Regions from separate parts of the Homo sapiens genome. Here all the other regions are linked to region 4. Evidence: promoter capture Hi-C in 16 types of primary human blood cells and fetal thymus (Javierre and others, 2016). All regions are on one chromosome and are shown on one strand. Each heading gives the region's core, a stretch centred on a gene start or on the middle of the fragment in contact. The rest is flanking DNA. Distances are from core to core; before and after follow the strand shown. Region 1 has its middle 59 kb from the start of FRMD4B. Region 2 has its middle 77 kb from the start of FRMD4B. Region 3 overlaps FRMD4B (FERM domain containing 4B). Region 4 holds the start of LMOD3 (leiomodin 3). Region 5 has its middle 17 kb from the start of FRMD4B.

Evidence for each region. The method cuts DNA at HindIII sites, captures the fragments that hold promoters and counts their contacts. A CHiCAGO score of 5 or more calls a contact.
Region 1: a contact is called between a fragment that was not itself captured here and the fragment with the promoter of LMOD3 in region 4, in 4 of 17 cell types (fetal thymus, activated CD4 T cells, endothelial precursors and 1 more). The highest score is 10.7, in fetal thymus.
Region 2: a fragment that was not itself captured here is called in contact with the fragment with the promoter of LMOD3 in region 4 in 1 of 17 cell types (activated CD4 T cells); the score reaches 5.6 in activated CD4 T cells.
Region 3: a fragment that was not itself captured here is called in contact with the fragment with the promoter of LMOD3 in region 4 in 3 of 17 cell types (neutrophils, fetal thymus and activated CD4 T cells); the score reaches 6.9 in neutrophils.
Region 5: a fragment that was not itself captured here is called in contact with the fragment with the promoter of LMOD3 in region 4 in 5 of 17 cell types (activated CD4 T cells, fetal thymus, neutrophils and 2 more); the score reaches 14.9 in activated CD4 T cells.

What each region holds. Positions count from the first base shown.
Region 1 is chr3:69,444,014-69,446,713 of GRCh38, forward strand. It overlaps a transcript of FRMD4B not described here. Among named protein-coding and RNA genes, the nearest start is that of FRMD4B, 59 kb to the left of the region's middle. The HindIII fragment of the contact is 3,348 bases long and covers 1-2,700 here.
Region 2 is chr3:69,461,882-69,464,581 of GRCh38, forward strand. It overlaps a transcript of FRMD4B not described here. Among named protein-coding and RNA genes, the nearest start is that of FRMD4B, 77 kb to the left of the region's middle. RefSeq lists an enhancer at 553-1,053. The HindIII fragment of the contact is 190 bases long and covers 1,170-1,359 here.
Region 3 is chr3:69,383,278-69,385,977 of GRCh38, forward strand. FRMD4B (FERM domain containing 4B) reads right to left here. Exons shown (of 23, transcript NM_015123.3): 1 at 2,551-2,700. Among named protein-coding and RNA genes, the nearest start is that of FRMD4B, 1.5 kb to the right of the region's middle. RefSeq lists an enhancer at 2,278-2,700. The HindIII fragment of the contact is 6,135 bases long and covers 1-2,700 here.
Region 4 is chr3:69,121,246-69,123,945 of GRCh38, forward strand. LMOD3 (leiomodin 3) reads right to left here and starts at 1,350. Exons shown (of 3, transcript NM_198271.5): 1 at 848-1,350. The coding sequence starts at 1,141. RefSeq lists an enhancer at 205-1,404. The HindIII fragment of the contact is 5,880 bases long and covers 1-2,700 here.
Region 5 is chr3:69,401,651-69,404,350 of GRCh38, forward strand. It overlaps a transcript of FRMD4B not described here. Among named protein-coding and RNA genes, the nearest start is that of FRMD4B, 17 kb to the left of the region's middle. The HindIII fragment of the contact is 1,121 bases long and covers 886-2,006 here.

The sequences.
Region 1 (2,700 bases), core at 164-2,663, 320 kb after region 4:
CACCCATACCAGGGACTCAGCTGGACCTGTGGCCCCCACCCAGAGGCTGACAGCACACGAGGACCATTTTCCACACCCCTCTGATTTCATCTCCCATCCAATCAGCATTCCCCATTCCCTAGCCCCCTGCCCACCAAACTATCCTTGAAAAACCCTAGCGTCTTTGGGGAGACTGATTTGAGTAACAGCCCCAATCCTTCTGCTTGGCCAGCCTTGCATTAATTAAACTCTTTGTTTACTGCAATAATGCTGTCTCAGTGAATTGGGTTTATCTGTGCAGCGGGCAAGAAGAACACATTTGGGTGATTACAGTATCTGATGCTAATTTCAGGTAGATTTTGTGAAATCAAAATTGAACTGAATTGAATTGAGGACATCCAGTTGGTGTATGAGGAGTTGGAGAACTGACTGCTTAGTGTGGAAAATCCACACATTTGGTATCAGAAGTGTTGTGATTATTGACATAAAGTTGTTTTTTTCTTTCAACCACATAGTTATAAAAGTGCATTCCAGCTCTATCATTTTATGAGACTTCAACATCTCATGGATTTCTGTGTGATTAGGTTACGCCTGACTCTCACCCCATACCTTCCAAATTTTCTAGGAGGAACTTATATCATGTTTGTAATGGAAAAGAAAATAACCAAAACATTTTAAAAGATAACATTTCCCATTATTACTCAAACAGGATTTTCACAAGCTAAGATGATTGCTTCTGTTTCAGTGCTATGTTCACTACTCATCTCCACGAACATAAAGAAACAACAAAATCTCTACACACACTTATCCACCAGATTGTTTTAAACAATTTTCAAACTTGTTTTAATAGGCAAAACTGGCTCTGTAATGCTAAACTAGATGTAAATAGCCCAAGGATCCAATTTCAGCCAAAATCTCATACCACGTGGAGAAATTAAGCAATTCTTAAATATTTAATAATACCCTGTAATTTTTTAGACTCCTGGGCTCCAAAATTTCTGACAAAGTAATTCCTATGCCACAATTAATAAAAATAGACAACCTTCCAAAAAGTCTCGCAAAGCAAAAGTAAACTCCTCCGAGCACTCCCGCTGCGGTCAGAGTGATGCATACAAGTGACATACCCGCCAGAAACGACAGCAGCCAGAAAGGGTTTGGAGCTTGCCCTGAACGGGTGTCTGCTGAAAAGGCTCATAAAAAGAAGGTTGTGATTAGAAGATCATGACATTTCCAGCACCCACTTATTAGCATGTCTGGAGAATCACAGAAGGGGGACGATGCAGTCTTTATAACCAGAGTTCACGTCACAGGATATTTACAAATACTGCTATTCCAGTCTTCGGAGCAATTCGGTCTCTGCTCTAACAGCAGACAAAGAGTGCAGACACCCTAGCCAATCACTCCAGGTGGCCTCCTAAGAAAGATTCCTGCCAAACCTTGGCTGCTCAGGCCATAAACCTGTATATTCTTCCTCCGCATCATCCCACTTCTCATTCATTAAACCCCCTGCTTAAAACTCCTCAGTGACTTCTGATTTTACATAGACTAACACTTAAACTCCAGCTCCTATGTGGATTCCTATCTACCTCTGAAATCTCATTTCATGCCAGTCTTCCCTTCACTCTCAATACACCCCACATTGGCCTCCTTTTCCCACCTTACTGGGTCAAGTCCATTCTCACTGCAGGGACTTGGCACTTGCTGAGTCACTGCTTGGATTGTTATTTCTCTGGATCTTCACATAGCTGGCTCCATCTCATAATTCGAATTCAACTCGCATGACCTTCCCAGATCACTATATCCTAAATAGTATTAAGCTACGTTTGTGTTATTCTCTACTCCTGTTTATTTTCTGTCTGGTCCTGAAATTACACTGTTTATTTGCTTGCTGGCTTTCTTGTCCCACTAGAATTTCACCTCCAAGAGGAGGGAGATATTGCTTTGTCCTGTTCACTGCTACATCCTCGTAGCCTGGGACAATGCACATAGTAGATACTCAGTGACTATTTGTCAAATGAATGTATGTGTTGATTTATTTATTTATTTATTTTCTGAGATGGAGTCTGACTTTGTCACCCAGGCTGGAGTGCAGTGGCGTGATCTTAACTCACTATAACCTCCGCCTCCCAGGATCAAGTGATTCTCCTGCCTCAGCCTCCTGAGTAGCTGGGATTACAGGCATGTACCACCATGCCTGGCTAATTTTTGTATTTTTCGTAGAGACGAGGTTTCCTCATGTTGGTTAAGCTGGTCTCGAACTCCTGACTTAATGATCTGCCCACTTTAGCCTCATAAAGTGCTGGGTTTGCAGGCGTGAGCCACCGTGACTAGCCTACAAATTTTTTTATTTTTTTTCTTGAGATGGAGTCTCAATCTGTCATCCTGGCTGGAGTGCAGTGGTGCGATCTCAGCTCACTGCAACCTCTGCCTCCCTGGTTCAACTGATTCTCCTGCCTCAGCCTCCCTAGTAGCTGAGAATAAAGGCACACACCACCACACCTGGCTAATTTTCACATTTTTAGTAAAGATGAGGTTCCGTTATGTTGGCCAGGCCAGTCTCGAACTCACCTCAGGTGATCAGCCCACCTTGGCCTCTCAAAATGCTGAGATTACAGGCGTGAGTCACCCGCGCCAGGCCATGTGTTATTTTAGATTAAGTTAGAACCCAATTTTCAATGTTCTCCCTCTACTCAGAGTTAAAACTCAATTTGTTGCTTGGAA
Region 2 (2,700 bases), core at 15-2,514, 340 kb after region 4:
GGATGACAAATAACATGGCATCCTTCCTGTAGGTGAAACAGCCAAAATGATTGCTCCATTTATTTTATACTTAGTAAGAGGCAGGCCTGCTCTGGGGGCCTTCTCTATATTATCCCAATGAATCCTCACAATATTTTGCTTACGGGTGATATCCTGAGGTTGGGTCTTTCAAAAAGCAGATGCTGAGACAAGGAGTCAGGGAGGAGGATTTTTTCTGGGAAATATTACCAGGAAGCATAGGTAGGGAAGTGAGGAATGGAGTCAGGGAAGGGAAGGATGCCAAAACATGGTGTCTTCGTGAACAGTAACCAGAGCCGCAAGTAACCAGAGCTCAGTCTTGCCGGGAACTGTCTGAGAGACTGTGTGAGCATGCCTCAGAATGTTCCCATGGAGGGGCTAGGAGGCCGCAGTTTTATCCTGCAGTTTTACTCCTCATTGGTTGAGGGTCACTCCTGGAAATGTTCCCTCTCTTTCCCTGATGTCTGGCCTGTCCCATAGCAAGAAGCAGTTCACTTCTGTGGCTAGAGAAAGCCCTCAGGTAAAAGACACAAACAGCCTTGTCAGGGTGCATGAGAACTGTCTGAAGACAACTTCTGGGGTAGGCCCAGGGCCACTAACAGCACAGCTACAGGGAGACTGAAGCTTGGTAAGGTTAAGTCACTTGCCCAAAGCTACATAATTGGTGAGTGGTGGAGACAGGATCTTGACTCATGCATTCTGGCTCTGCACAGCTTACCCTTAACCATGCATAGAACTCCCTGTGCCTACACCTGAGTCACTTGTGCATCACCCAATATCTGTGCACTGGCCTTGTTTCTGGCCTGAGAGGCCCTGGCAATGGCTTGCTGTACAGCCAGGTAGCCAAGGCCTCTGCCACAGTCACCAACTGAGGTACTTGTGGCAGGCGATTCCTCCTGGCCTCTCAGGGAAATGACCAATGAACTCTTCTTCCTCTCTCCCCCTGCACTGCTCAGAAGCATAATAATTTCATATGGCTTCTCCCAAGACACCCCTGGAAGACCATGTAGTCAGCTTGTCACAAAGCCAGCTTTCTCATCTATGATGCACTTCCTTGTATTCACCTCCTTGCCCTCCCTGCTCACTCCTTCTTATTCACACTCACACCTGCTTCCCTGGGATTGCACTCCCCAATAAAGTGCTAGTACCCAAGCTTTCATTTTGTAATGGAACATAATCTGCATGCAGTAAGTTTTGACAAATGCCTACACCTATGTGACCCACCCTTGCATCCAGATCTAGAGCAACCATCAGCCCAGGAAGTTTCCTTAGACCCCTCACCAGTCAATCCACTCTTCTCACATTCCTAGGCAACCACTGTTCTGATTTATTTCAGTATCAAGCTTTACCTGTCCTAGAATATCAAATAAATGACAATCGTAGAATCTAACACATACAGTTTTGCCTGGGGGATCTGTTTTCCAGGGAACCTGGGTGAGGACTTACCTCTAACTTGGTATATTTTGAGTTTTTCTCATAATTCTGGTCCATTGAAGTACACATACCATATACCACTTCCAGGGTAGACCAAAATAATTACAAATATTGGTATTTAAAGTTCACGATCAAAACATTTTCATTTAATGAGTGATATTCAAAGCAATGACCTCAGTGCATTATAGATCCTAATTTTTTATCTTCATTATAAGTCTTTAGGATAGCTATTATCTTTGGCTTATAGATTAGGAAACTAAGTCTCCAGTTAGGCTGAGTAGTGACTTGAGATGACACAATGTAATAGAGGCAAGGTTGGGATTTGAGCCAGACTGCATCTGCCTCCAAGTCTTATGCTCTTTCATAAAATACTCTACATATAAGTTATCTGAAGAGAAACTCCCTATTAGTAACCATGACTCTACGGAAATCCATAAGCAAACTTTGGCTCATGATGCATAAAGCTAAAGGGACAAGGAAATTTGCAAAAGGAGGGCTCTCTCTGCACAAAGAAATGACTGCCTCATCTCCTGAGTACAGCTTTGAAAGGCTATTAGAGATCCACCCAGTAGAAAGATTACTGGGTATCACAGAAGATGATTGATCACTTATTCCCACAGCAGGCAGGTTGCTGAAACACTACCCTGGAAGCCAGAGGGAGTAAACTGTGAATAAGTGAAGCCTCACCTTGATCCATTTGGAAAAGTACAGTACACCCTTTACTTAACTCGTACCCATTCAAACATATTTATGGGGCAACTACCACGTGCAGACTCTGCTGCTCTCAATTCTGAGGTTATAGCAGCAACTAAGGCTGACTTTCTGAATAAATGATCAACTGATTTGTATTAAACTTTTGCTTATAGTAATTTAAAATACATGCTGGTAACTTTTTTTGCCCATTAATACCTATCCTGTCAGAAATGGGAAGGGTATGTTGGCCAGGAGGTTTTCTGGTAACAGGACAGAGGTATTTTTTGACCATTTAGAGTGCCTTGGAAATATGCTAGCTTGGCAAGTGAGTGCAGTAGGATAACATAACATTATCAGCGCCCTTACCCATAGACTGTCTGCAGGCCAGAAAGTAAACTGTCACCTATATATGATTTCTAAGGCAGATAAGGCCTGGAAATGGTGTTTTTCTTTCTTCTTTTCTCTAAAACATGAAACTAGGACTACAGATTAAGTAAAGACCATGTGATACTCAGTATGCAATGGTTTGCAAATGTTTTAAATGTGGAGACCCCT
Region 3 (2,700 bases), core at 1-2,500, 260 kb after region 4:
TATTTGAAAAGCATTAAAAAATGATCTTCCTTTGCAAAGGATTATGTTGCACAATTAAGAATATTCAAAGGCTGAAAATATTTTTGAAAATCTTATTTTTGCAAAAGCACAGGAAATATTAAACTTAGAGATCATTTTCTTCTGATTCTGTATTCATAAAAGCCTTTGTTATTTATTTTCATTGATACATATTAGATGTACATAGTTCGGGGGTACATGTGATAATGTGACACATTCATATAATCAAAGCAGGGTTATTGGGATAGCCAATGCTTTAAATATTTTAATTAATTAATTTTTTAGAGGAGGTCTCCCTCTGTCACTTAGGCTGAAGTGCAGTGGGACAATTATGGCTCACTGCAGCATTGAACTCCTGGGCTCAAGTGATCCTCCTGCCTCAACGTCTTGAGCAGAGAGAACCACAGGTTCATGACGCTATACCTGGCTGATTTTTAAATTTTTTGTAGAGATGGGGTCTCACTATGTTGCTCAGACTGGTCTTGAACTCCTGGGCTCAAGTGATCCTCTCACTTCAGCCTCCCAAAATGTTGGGATTACAGGCATGAGCCATGGTGCCCAACCGTTATCTTTTCTTCGTGCTAGAAACATTCAAATTATTCTCTTCTAGTTATTTTGAAATGTACAATTGATTAAAGTTAAAAATAAGGAGTGGGGACTTATTTTTTTTTTATTTTTTATTTTTTTAAGAGATGGGTCTCACTATGTTGCCCGGGCTGGCCTCAAACTCCTGGGCTCAAGGGATCTTCCTGCCTCAGCCTTCTGAGTAGCTGGGATTATAGACACACAGCACACTGCCTGACTACCACCATTATTTTAGATGTTCTTATCAATTATGATATGGTATTGGCTCAGTCACCATCCATTTTAGAGAAAAGAAAAAAATACATATATTTTAGTAGCTCAGTGTCTCAAATTGCTATTCTGCATAAAAATTATCAGTCAACCTTATAAAGAATCCATAAGGTCTCAGGTTTCTGGAATCTTTATTTTTGAATTGGTCAGTAACAGTATTACAGATAAGCCATAAATCCTCTGAATCCTTGGGGAGTGAGGCACAGAGTCACTCTGGTTGGCTACAATATTTGCGTTCCCTTTTTGAAAGTTTCTCAAACACTAAAAAGGAAAAACAAAATTACATAAGGGGCACTTATTCTACAGACCAAACTGAACAGGGATTTCCCAAGAGAGGAAAAAAAAGGCTTGAAAGACAGACACACTTCTGGCTCCAAAAAGCCAGAGAGCTATGTAATGTGGCCAGATGGGATATATCCACAATTCCCTAATACTCTCAAACTCCCACATGCTGCCCTGGTTCCCAACCTGCCTTTCAGATTCCATTTCAAAATGCAAGATATCACAGATATGTTATACAAAGCAGAAGCAGTGAAAGCACAAGTTCAAATGTTCCTCATATTTTAACAAGGGTGACAAGGGGACGCTGACTCTTTAGACTTCCACAGGCTAACCTTAGGTGCTGGCCTTTTCATTTTGCCTGATTGATGGAAGATTATGGTTTGTCAAAATCAAGTGCTTGATCATGTATGAGACACAATATAATAAGACATAAATTCTAGACATATTAGGAACAGGGTCAAATGGGGGGAAATCCAGGAACTGCAACAAAGCTATTCCACATCACAGGAAAGAAAATATGATATTATCTTTCCACAGTAGACACCAAGTATATTTCTAAACAATGCAGATTTTTAAAAATCTCAAATATATTAACAACCAAAGCACAGAACTTTTAAATTCATAAATTACTGTCTAAAAAAAAAAAAAGAAATCCAGGCAAACTGCAGTACCAGAGAGGATGAATGGTCTCCTAGTTGAGCAAAGTTGCTGCATTTTTTGCCTGCAGGATGGGACCGAGCAGAGAAATAAAGGGGCTGTGTTGTGTGACAGGGAGTAAATCCTAACATGAGCATTCCAACGTGTAGCCGGGCCACCCCTCCCTTCCCCAGCCTGTCATCCTCCTGCAAAGTGTTCACAATTTGCTGTCCTTCCTTCCAAAAGCCAGTAGACACAGAATCAGCTTTTCCTGGCTCTGCCTTACAAGTTGGGGCTGCCTGATGGAAAACTGAAAATCCAACGGAAGGATAAAAATCCACCAAGGCCCCCTCTGCCAGCAAATTGGTGTGAAACCGTTGCTTCAGAAGCAGCCACTCCCACCCCCAATGAAATTAAAAAGAAGGACTCATTTGAATGTCTAAGTGGCTTTCTGAAGACCCTCTGTTGCAAAGCAACAGCCTCCCTAGTCAAGCGCCCGCCAGTACACCATTGCTCTGTAACAGATGTCTGCAAACGCTGGGACTATCTCGCAAGTGCCCCCCATGCCCGATTTGAAAAATTCACAAGCTCTGTCAAGCAATAATTACCTAGAGCTGCTGAGCGTTTGACCCAAGGGCCAAGCAGTCTGCTAGGAGTTTAAGAAGAGCTGGGGGGAATAAAATCATACAGGTGGAGCCTGCTTCCCACGAGTGCCCGGCATCCTGCTGGGGCCCTCGGGTGCCGCGCGCTCCAGCTCACCTGGTACACGTCCTGCAGCCCGCACCACGTCCGCAGCACCTGGTGGCAAGCCCGCAGCCTCTCCGTGTACCATCTCCGCAGCGTGGACACGGTCAAGTTCCATACGAAGCGGCTGCCGCTGAACAGCAGGTCCTCCACGCCACACATGAA
Region 4 (2,700 bases), core at 100-2,599:
CTGTTTCTTTTCTTAATCTTAGCACATGTTTAAACTCTACTGACTGTAAAACCAATTGACAACTTTCCTTAATTACAGCCAGCTTCAGAGTAATTTAACAAGATGTATCTTTGTAAACAGGCATAACCTAAAGAGACTTTACCTAGGAGGCATCTCTGTCCTCTTTTTGTTAAGTCATTTTCAAGTGGAACATAAAAAAAAAAATTATGCTCATGCACAGTAAGTTTGCAGAGTTAACAATTCTAGCTTTCAGGTTTTAGAAAGTGAAGAACTAGCTTCAAAACCACTTAATAGCCATCGATTTCTAAATGTCATCACTGACAGCCAATACATAGTAATAATATAAGACATTTTCTGGTTATTCGACTTGGTTTAATTGCAGGTTGTGTGGCCAGACTTCAGGAGGACTGAAATGTTTGACACTGTGTGCGAAACACTGCGTATGTTTGGATGTGCCAGAGAGACAGAGGCTACAGAGCTGTCATTACTTTCTCAAAGGGGCCTGCAATAAAAAAGAAAGAGAGAGGTAAGGACAACTGCCTCTGGGTTATGAGTTAAGTCACTAAGTATCGTGGCAATAGAACACAGGCTTTCTGACACAGCAAACCCGACAGCAATTTTTAAAAAGAGACATTTGCAAGAAATTACCCAATTTTCCCCTTGTAAATATAAATGTGTTTCAGAAAGTTCCAGTCGGAGTAGGATTAAATATTATGGTTTAATCTAGATATGGCAAAAACAAAGCAGAACCAAACCCTGGAGTCTTGAGAAATCACAGTTACAACAGAGAGACCTAACAGCCCATCCCAGGCAGCCATTTCTCGGTTGTACACAAATCTCTGGTTACCTCGGATTTCACAAAGGTGACAGGAACTCGTTCCTCTTCCAGCATGCGCCTGGATGCCTTTTCCCAATACATATAATCAACAAGAGATTTATGATTGAAGTTTCCTGTCGGTGGCTTGTCAGTTTGATCTTTCTGAATCATTCCCACGGGAAGGCTGGGGTCAGGGGCCATGACTTCCATTTCCGACTGCAGTTCTTTCAGTTCTTCAGCAGACAAGTTGGCCAAGATTTCATCTTCATTAATCTCCTCATCGAGAAGTTCTTCTTGATCTGAATTTCTGCTGTGCTCTGACATTATTTTTTCTAAATATTATTTTACTAGAAAAGAAGAATAATCAAAGATGATTTTTAAAAAGAAGGAAAAAAGCCTCAAGAAGGTCCCCCAGTTAACGAGTGTCCCAAGTTAACACACCCTTGAGATATTTTTTTTTTTTTCCCAGGAACCTCAGTGGTTTGCTGAGCAGCTAGGAGTGATCACAGCTAAGCTCTTGCCGGATCTATATTAAGCAGGGCTTGGCTGGATGGGGTCAATTTATGGAACAACTATGCTGCTCTCTTTTTGGCAACTTGAGTCAGCTGCGCAAATCCATCTGACATTTCAGTACAGCTGCTATGTTTGCCAGAGACTAGCAGAGACTACAGAATCTCTGCAGGAATAAAATTAATTATCTTCCTATATGCCATCATATTGCCATACACAAATTCATGCAGCTCATACATACATACCCCAATACTCCAGGGGATTCCACTTGTTTTTATTTAAATATTAAAGCAACTTACAATATTTCAGAAGGGAAATCCAACCAGCAACCTGAGTTGTTTCTGAAGTAAAGAATTCACTTGAAGGTAGAAATCAAGCTCTTAGGGTCTGCCTCTTCCCTACAAGGTGAGTGTGGAAGCAAATAAAGTGGTGCACAGTGGAACAGAGGTCTTGCTATGTCACTCATCCTCTGTGTAAGCCGAACCTTTGCAAGATGTCCTGTTTGCATCTAGATCCTGTGATCTAACAGATGGGGACAACCAGCACTTGGATTTCCACTATAAGTGAGTTTAATATTTTAAATTATTTGCTTTTCTTATTAAGTATCCATTAAGCCAATATCAATGAAAATGGCTCTAAAGTGAAGTGTTAAAAAAGAAATCCAGACCACTAATATACTAAAAGAAACTATGAGAAGATTTTGTTTTCAAACCCTGAAGGGGCAATATGCAACATTTGTCCAAATTACAAATGCCCATTTCCTTTGACCCAGCAATTCCACTTTGAGAAGTGTATCCTACAGATATACCCCTACATGGGTGAAACAACGTGTGTACAAGGTTACACAATATAGCAAAGTACAAAACAGTGTGTTTTACATGCCATTATTTGTGTGACAAAGGGTACAATAATATATAATATACAAGTTTTATTATATATATATTTAAGACAGGGTCTGGCTCTGTCACCCAGGCTGGAGGGCAGTGCTGCGATCTCAGCTCACTGCAACCTCTGCCTCCCAGGATCAAGCTGGGACCACAGGCATGCACCACTACACCCAGCTAATTGTATTTTTTGTAGAGACAGGGTTTTGCCATATTGCTCAGGCTGGTCTCGAATTTCTGAGTTCAAGCAATCCACCTGCCTCGGTGTCCCAAAGTTCTGGGATTACAGGCGTGAGCCACCGTGCCTGGCTCGTAAATATATTCTTATTCCGAAATATACATTCATTGTACAAGAGTTAGGATAACATAGAAAGGCACAGAACAAAATCTTCCCCTTACCTCACTGTGAAGCTACCACTATTAACATTTCAGTTTTTTCATTCCAGTCCTTTCTTTTAGGCATACAAACTCTATCATTTTTTCTCATCT
Region 5 (2,700 bases), core at 196-2,695, 280 kb after region 4:
GTGATTCTCCAACCTCAGCCTCCTGATTAGCTGGGACCACACGTGTGCACCACCACACCCCAAAATTTTTATATTTTTTGTAGAGATGGGGTTTTGCCTTGTTGCCCAAGCTGGTCTCAAACTCCTGGACTCAAGCGATCTGCCTGCCTCGGCCTCCCAAAGTGCTGAGACTACAAAGCATTAGCCACCGTGCCTGGCCGAGAGCACAAACATCTCAGTGTAAGAAGCACAGGGGTCAACAAGAGGAGATACAACCACTGTAATCTATACAGACTTCAGAAAAACTTTTAGTTTAGTAAAAATAAAATGTTTTTCATAATAAATGATTAAATGCAGTAGCCTGTGCGTAGGCAATTCTTGTGGGATCTTATACAGCCTCCTGTCTCAGCATATGTTAATAACACAACTGCAGTGAATTTCCTATTTCTCATGTCTGCCCAACTATTGCAGTCATGGGTGATTATCCAATATCCGTTCTACCCAAAAGGACAGGCCTAGGGCAGGTATGGTAATCCCATCCTCCCTGTCAAGTGATTGGTTTAGGAAAGGGCATGTGATCAGCTTTGCCCATTAAGACCAAAGGGGATATCTACTGAGGGGGCTTCTGGGAAACCTAGCTTAACTCTGGTTGAGCCATCTTGTTGCCACAATGAGGATGAAGCCAATACAGAGAGCTGATTTTTAAACAAGGCAATTACCAAGATGAGAAACTGGAGCCTTCAAGTATTGTGTGTGAGCTGCCCTACCTCAGGATATCTTAACATAATAGATTTCCTTATGACATATGAAATAATATCTTTCCTTATTACCTTATTAACCCAATTAATGTGTGGGTTCTCTCTTACTTTAGGAGATCTTTAATGATATACTTTACACTGGACTGAAAGCTTTGAGAAGGGGAGGATGTTTTGTTTATCTTTGTATCCCAAAACCTAACACAGTATCTCAGATATAGGAGGTGCGTAATTCATATATGTAGGGCTGAATTGAACCAAATATCAAACATAAGATGTACAAAATGAATTTCCCATTGCCTCTAGATCTCGTGGATACCAAATAGCTAAATAAGCAACCCAGATTATAGACAGTATGACATGAGGGTAGGTGAGAATTATTGGCATCAGGAGACAGTGCAATAATTGACCTCAATACATTAGTCAGATTGCACATGACAGACAGTAAATCAAAAAGAATCAGGAATCAATGAGATATACATATGAAAATCACTGGATGGAGAGTGATTGAAAAAGACTCCAGAAGATTATTTTGTTTAAAGGAAGCATAGCCCTGGAATTTCTGTATTATGGTATTAATCATTCAAACACAGAATACGGCAGAGAAGAGAAACAACATTTTATATCTGGAACATCCAGGAGGATATGCCAGCAGTAGCTAGATGTTTGGAGGACCCTGAAGATACTGGGTCTGTGTCCACACTAATAAAACAGAAAGGCTAAATCAGATCCCCTCTACTTCATTTGTAAGAACTGCCTGGATCACAGAGGTGCTTTGAAACTTAGCAAGGGTTCAGGGGCCTCTAATGAACACCCAAATATTCCTCAGAAAAGAAAAAAAATCATTCCTTCCTGATATTCCTTAGAAAAGAAGCTATGTGCAGGCATTGACTTATGGGGTTTCACACCCACCAAGCCATGTTAATGTTCTCAACAACTCAGAAGTATTCTCACTGTCCCCATTTTAAAACTGGCTCAACTGGGCAGTTATTTTCATTAACCAAAGGATTCAATTAATGCTAGATACAAGGAATGCCATGTAACATAGCATTGTAACAGAGGCCTTCTGCTAGCAAAACAACAGGGCTCAGTGACAGGGAAATCTCAGTAAGGAAGAAAGGAACCCTTCCCCCTGAAATGAGTGGGGAAGCTAACCCCATTCCTGCCGTTGCTACTAAACCCTGAGACTATGAAATGTCAGCACTATTCAAACAGTCATAGAAAACTTCACAGAGAGGAGAAACAGGCAAGACAGGTTTTGGAAGTATAGAAAGCTTAAATATACACCTAACGCAATCAGCTTGAAAATAAAAGAGGCATATGGACATTTGAACCTTACAAGTTCAAGTATACTCCACTTATGAAGTATAGTACAGCATTCTCTATCTCTATTCCAAAAGTGTGCATAAGCACGCATGCGTACCCCACTCCCCCCACCTCAACACACACACACACAGGTCTCTCTTTGCACATTTTATTCTAACCAGAATCAGAGACATGTCTATCCCTAAAATATTATTTTGTTAATTTTAGAGACAGGGTCTCTCTTGTCACCCGGGCTCTGGAGTGCAGTGGCACAATTATGCTCACAGCCTTGAATTCCTGGGCTCAAGCAATCTTCCTGCCTCAGCCTCTCAAGTAGCTAGGACTATAGGCATCCAACACCACACCTGGCTGTTTAAAAAAATGTTTTTGTAGAAACAGGTCTCACTATATTGCCCAGGTTGGCCTTGAGCTCTTGGCTTCAAGTGATCCTCTTGTCTCAGCCTCCCAAAGCACTGAGATTACAGGCCTGAACCAATGTGCCTGGTCTCCTAAGAATGTTTTCTTTTGGATTTTCTTGAAGAAAATCGCAAATAGAAAATACAGTGTGAGTGTATTTTTGCCCATAAGATTTCTCTCCAATAACAGAATTCAGAAAAAATAAAATTAAATAAATGCACAGGCTTTCTGATCCAGAGGATTC